Regions from separate parts of the Homo sapiens genome. Here region 2 is linked to region 1. Evidence: promoter capture Hi-C in human tissues and cell types (Jung and others, 2019). All regions are on one chromosome and are shown on one strand. The core of a region is centred on a gene start or on the middle of the fragment in contact, and the rest is flanking DNA. Distances in the headings are between cores, read along the strand shown. Region 1 holds the start of PRPH (peripherin). Region 2 overlaps SPATS2 (spermatogenesis associated serine rich 2).

The links. Contacts are between HindIII fragments. The study calls those that stand out against the background at their distance.
Region 2: a contact is called between a fragment that was not itself captured here and the fragment with the promoter of PRPH in region 1, in 3 of the 25 tissues and cell types used here (IMR-90 fibroblasts, lymphoblastoid cells and mesenchymal stem cells).

The regions. Positions count from the first base shown.
Region 1 is chr12:49,293,490-49,296,437 of GRCh38, reverse strand. It overlaps PRPH (peripherin), which reads right to left and starts at 1,291. Exons shown (of 9, transcript NM_006262.4): 1 at 693-1,291; 2 at 200-260; 3 at 1-6. The coding sequence starts at 1,237. TROAP-AS1 (TROAP and PRPH antisense RNA 1) reads left to right here. Exons shown (of 8, transcript NR_120449.1): 6 at 1-1,178; 7 at 1,903-1,990; 8 at 2,542-2,948. RefSeq lists enhancers at 359-1,275, 1,276-2,193, 2,273-2,948. The HindIII fragment of the contact is 28,443 bases long and covers 1-2,948 here.
Region 2 is chr12:49,399,577-49,402,439 of GRCh38, reverse strand. All of the region lies in intron 2 of SPATS2 (spermatogenesis associated serine rich 2), which reads right to left. Among named protein-coding and RNA genes, the nearest start is that of SPATS2, 34 kb to the right of the region's middle. The HindIII fragment of the contact is 8,029 bases long and covers 1-2,863 here.

The DNA of each region.
Region 1 (2,948 bases), core at 42-2,541:
CACGTCCTTCGAGGGGTGGCAGTGGAGGTTCAAGATAAGTTAGGGGCTGCGCAGACCAAGGAAGGACCAGGCCTTCCCTGTCTGCCTCAGGAGGCATCTGGGTTACCCCCTTCTCCCCGCGCCCACCGATGCCACCTCTGGATACTGAGATCGGGGGTAGCGGTGGGGAGGCTGAACTCGGAGAGGGGCTCGGACTCACCTTGCGGAAGAGCACGAGGTTGTGCTCCGCGTCCTCCCGCTTGCGCGTCTCCTCCTCCAACCTGACGGGAAGAGCGTGCAGAGGCTGAACTGCGGGGTCGCCGCCCAGCTCGCACCCCAGACCGCACGCCCCCCAGGATCCGGTTAGAGGCTGTTCTGCTGCCCAGGACTCTAAATGGAGGGCTGAGGCTGTCTAATGGAATTGCCCCGCATTGTCTCTAACGGACTGGGAGCTGAAAAGGGGGTTTCCTCATTACTCAGGGGAGGCACAGATACCCACTTCTCCCACCTCCCCAAACACTCAGAGCAAAGGGGTAGCGGGGGGCACTTGGAGCCCGTGGGCAGGGATGCTGCCCGCACACACCTGGGTTGGTAAGGGGAGCCACACCCTTGGGCTGCTGATGGAGAGGGGAAGCGAGGGGAGGCAAGAGCAGCCGCCTCGACGGCCGCTTCGACCTCGCCTCGACGGCAGCGGCCCAGCCCTGCCCCCTGACCTCTGCTTGAGCGCCGCCAGGTCCTCCGCCAGCCCGTCGCGCTCCACCTGCACCCGGTCACGCTCGCGGCCCAACAGCTCCAGCTCTCGCCGCAGCTCGCGCAGCTCCTGCTGGCACAGCTGGTCGGCGCGCGCCGGCTCCTGGCCCCGGGCTTGGCTCAGCTCCCCGCGCAGGGCCGCGTTCTGCTGCTCCAGAAAGCGTACCTTCTCGATGAAGTTGGCGAAGCGGTCGTTGAGCTCCTGCAGCTCCTGCTTCTCGTTGCTGCGCGTGGCCAGGAACTCCTGGTTGAGGGCCTCGGCCATGGAGAAGTCGAGGCGCTCCGAGGGCAGGCGCAGGAGGGCGCCCGCTCCCGCTCGGGGGCTACGGAAGCTGCCCAGGCGCACCGAGGAGCTCGGGGACGCGGAGCCCAGCAGGCGGCTGCTGGAGAAGCGGGAGCTGGACGAGTAGGAGAAGGCCCCGGGGGATAGTGAGGGCGGTGGACCGAAGGTACGGCGGTATGAGGTGGAGCTGAAGCCGGCCCGGAGGCCCGACGGGTGGTGGCTCATTGCGGCCAAGGATGGGCAGTCACCGTTCGCAGAGCTAGGCCGGGGGCTGGGAAGGAGCCGCAGACCGCTGCGAGGCGGCTTTATAGCCCTGCGGTCTCAGGGGGGGCACGGGCAGCTCCTCCCACTGGCCTGATGGCCCGCTGGAGGGGGGTTGTATGGGGAGGGGGATGCCCCACCCCTGCGGAACAGCAGGAGCGCCTTCCCCTCCCTTCCCTGGTTGCAGGCCTCTACCCACTTGATTGCCCCCTGTTGCCGCTGGGGTGGGGGTCACTTCCTCCCAACAAGCACCCAAAGCTAGAACCTAGGGTAGGAAGGCCTGACTTGAACTAGAGTCCCTGAAAATTGCGAGGTAGAAGGACCTGAAGTTAAAGGGCAGGCTTCTGGCACAGGAGTAGGGAGGAGGCCAGCTGGAGGGAGAGTTGACCTGGCTTAGGCCCCATAGCTAGTGCCTTGACTTGCCCCCTGAAGGCCAGGCTCTATTTTCACCTGCTGTCAGCTACCCCTCCTTCACCACACCCAGAGAGGAATAGGAGACAGGGGCGCAGAGGCAGATCGGGCTGGGGAAGAGCTACTCTCCCTAATCCCCAGGGCCCTGTGAAGGGCTGGTGCCTGGCGCCAGCTCTGCTGCTAATGGGCTGACCAGCCCCCCTCCCCCTCCCCTGAAGACGGCCCAGCAGAGGTTGTCTGCTGATGTTTCAGCCTTAAAGACACAGCCCCCAAACCTAGACCTACCCCGCAACAAGCCCCAATGAGGTGGGTACATCATAGGGGGCTGAGGGTGGCTGGACCCAGCTCTGGATCCCACTCGGGAGGGTCTGCCCCATGCCACGGGCTGGGCTAAGTGGGCCTTTTGTATTCTGTCTTGGTTTACTGGATTCTCCCTCCCCCCAACCCCACACCAATTGCTGCTCAGTCATGGGCTTTACAGGAACCAGAGTGATTCCTGAGGTAGGAAGGGGAGGGGGCTGAGGGGCAACAGCGGCTGCCAAGGCTGAGAGATGGATGGACTGGCAGGAGCTGGTTTCCAGTATTGATGAGTTGCAGGTACCAGGGATGGGTGGGGCTGGATGGGGAAGAGATGGGGAAAGAGAAAGTGCCCATCCCCAGCAGTCTGAAAGAGAGAAGGCCCCAGAACAGGTCCACAAACCTGCGCACGCAAACAGATGCATACACACAGCTTTGTATATCTATGCGCACACACACTACATACACACACATACACACACAATCACACATCCCACCACACCCTCCCCTACTCCAGAGTTAGCGAGAAGGCTGATATCTGGCCTTTGTATGTCAAACAGCTTCCAGAATGCAAGCACAACCTGCCCAGGAGTGGACAGAGGCAGCTCGGATGGTCTGCAGGAGCCGGGTTGCTGAGGTCTGCTGGGTTTGCCAGGAACCATAGGGCTGGGGCTGCTGCTGCTGCTGGGGACTCCAGCGCTGTCCTGTGAGACAGGTCTGCCTCAGATGGGACCTGAGGACAAGAGAGTGCATCTGGGGAAGCAGGTTTCAGGTTCCTGCCTGGATATCTGGCTGGGGGTAAGGAGGGCGGCTCCCTGGCTGGCCAGCTCCTCAGTATTGCAGGGCAGCAGCCCCCTCCCCCCTTTGTGCGTCCTGTGAGATGGGCCAGGGCCAACGCCCTGCTCACGTCCCTACCGCCTTCGTCTCCTTTCCAGGCCCCTCCTTCCTTCCGGGCCATTAGTCTCTC
Region 2 (2,863 bases), core at 301-2,800, 110 kb before region 1:
CTGTATCTTTTCAGATTGCTCCATCTAGCACCCTAACTCTAAAAATCCTTTGACCCCACCAGGATTTATAAGCCATTGATCCCATTCCCCTCTTACATCCTCATTTTCCTCCTCAGCTTCAAGTTCAAGGTCCATCATTATAATCATTCCCTTGCATACACCTCAAGTCTCTTGACTTCCACTCTCATTTCATCATACCTGCCTGGCAAAACACCAACCCTGATTAAATACAACCCCTGTTAAGAAAAACAAAAACATTTAGGACATTCGGGAGGCAACTGGAAATTAGAAAACTAACAGCTGGGCATGGTGGTGCATGCCTATACTCCCAGCTACTTGGGAGGCTGAGGAAGAAGGATCAACTGAGCCCAAGAGGTCAAGGCTGCGATGAGCCGTGTTTGCACCACTGCACTCCAGCCTGGGCGACAGAGCGAGACCCTGTCAGACAATCAATCAACCAATCAATCAATCAATAAAACAAAAACTAGGCCAGGCAGGTGGATCATTTGAGGTCAGGAGTTCAAGACCAGCCTGGCCAACATGGCGAAACCCTGTCTCTACTAAAAATACAAAAATTAGTTGGGCAGTGTGCTACATGGCTGTAATCCCAGCTACTCAGGAGGCTGAGGCAGAAGAATCGCTTGAGTCTGGGAGGCGGAGGTTGCAGTGAGCTGAGATCGTGCCACTGCACTCCAGTCGGGGCGACAGAGTGAGACCCTGTCTCAAAAATAAATTAAATTTTAAAATAAAACAAAAACTAAAAAAGAAAAGAAAAAGAAACTGACAGGATATTTGATATCAAGGAATTGTTAAATCTTTTAGTATGGTAATGGTACTTTTTGGTAAGAGTTCATATCTTTTAGAGAAACATGAAATATTTAAGCACAAAATATGATGTTTGGGATTGCTTCAAAATAATATGGAAAAGTAGAAATGGTTGAGGGTACAAATAAAACAAGATTAGCAGTGAGTAAATATTTGTTGAAACTGGGTGATGAGTACATGAGGGCTCTATTTACTTTTGTATGTTTAAAATTTTCCTGAATAACATGTTTAAAAAAAATGCAGCTGTCCATCTACTCTATGCCTGCACCATGCAGCTAAATGTGGCTTTAAAAAGGAAAAAAAGAGCCAGATGCAGTGGCTCATGCCTGTAATCCCAGCACTTTGGGAGGCAGAGGCAGAAGGATCATATGAGCCCAGGAGTTTGAGACCAGCCTGGTCAACATAGGGAGACCTTGTCTCTACAAAAAATTTTAAAATTAGCCAGGCATGGTGGTACTTGGCTATAGTTCCAGCTACTTGGGAGGGTGAGACAGGAGGACAGCTTATCCCAGGAGGTTGAGACCAGCCTGGGCAACATAGTAAGACTTTGTCTCTACAAAAAAAAATCAAAAAAATTAGTCAGGCGTTGTGGCACATGCCTGTGGTCCCAGCTACTTGGGAGGCTGAGGTGGGAGAATCACTTGAGCCTGGGAGGTTGAAGGATGCAGTGAGCTATGCACCACGGCACTCAAGCCTGGCTGACGGAGTAAGATCCTGTCTCAAAATTAAAATGAAATAATAAAAATAAAACATTCATACTAAACAGTTCTCACATAAAATTCACAACAGCTAACTTCAAATGGTCTCTTAGCTCAGCATGACAATCAAAACTTTTGCCTCATCCATTCATTCTCCCACTCCTCTATTTGGTACATTTTATGCCATTTTCTCTTTCCTCAAGCTATCAATGAACATTTCCTCGTCCATGCTTACTCCTAGTTGCTGCCCTTCCACTTCCTCAGTGAAAGAGAAGGCAATCACTACCACCATTTGCCCTGTCCTCTCTCCTGTTATGCACTGTAGATGAACTGACTGCTCCTATCTACAGCCAACTCCTCCACTTGAACACCAGACTCCAAACCCTATTGCCTAGTCATTCCCCTTTCTCCCTCCTGCATCAGCAATATTTCCCTCTCTACTGGTGCATCCTCATCAGCACTGTAGAAACATACTCTCAGTTATCTCACTGAAAAAGATAAGCCATAACCCCAGTTTCCTCACCAGCTACTTATCCATTTCTCTGCTCTCCTTCACAGCAACACTCCAAGAAGCTGTAACTGTCTCCAATTCCTTTCCTCCCATTCAAAATCACCCCAAGAGGCTTTTGCTTCCTGATTACCCTACCAAAGCCTCTCCCATCAAGATCAGCAAGAAATTCCAAATTACTAAATCTGATGGTCAATTTTTAGTCATCTTACTTAGATATCTGCAACATCTAGTATACCATGTATATTCTTACTTTGTCAAAACATTCCCCTCCCCAGAATATAAACTCAAGGAAGACAGAGAGGTCTGTTTTGTTCACAGCTGTAACTCTAACAGTGCCTGGTACATGGTACCATATTTTTTTCTTTTTTTTGAGACGGAGTCTCGCTCTGTCGCCCAGGCTGGAGTGCAGTGGCGTGATCGCTGCTCACTGCAAGCTCCGCCTCCCGGGTTCACGCCATTCTCCTGCCTCAGCCTCCCGAGTAGCTGGGACTAAGGCACCTGCCACCACGCCTGGCTAATTTTTTGTATTTTTAGTAGAGATGGGGTTTCAACACATTAGCCAGGATGGTCCTGATCTCCTGACCTCGTGATCCGCCTGCCTTGGCCTCCCAAAGTGCTGGGATTACAGGCATGAGCCACCGCGCCTGGCCATTTTTTTCATATTTTAACATCTCTGAAAACCAGGCACAATTAATGACATCTTATAATTGCTATTTGTTTCTTTCAAGCACCTGGGGCACTACCAATCCGAAACAACTTTTAATTAGAATCTCTGTTTAAATTTTGTTGTACCACATAGGGAGTGTGAATTCAGACCTAGAACCAGTTT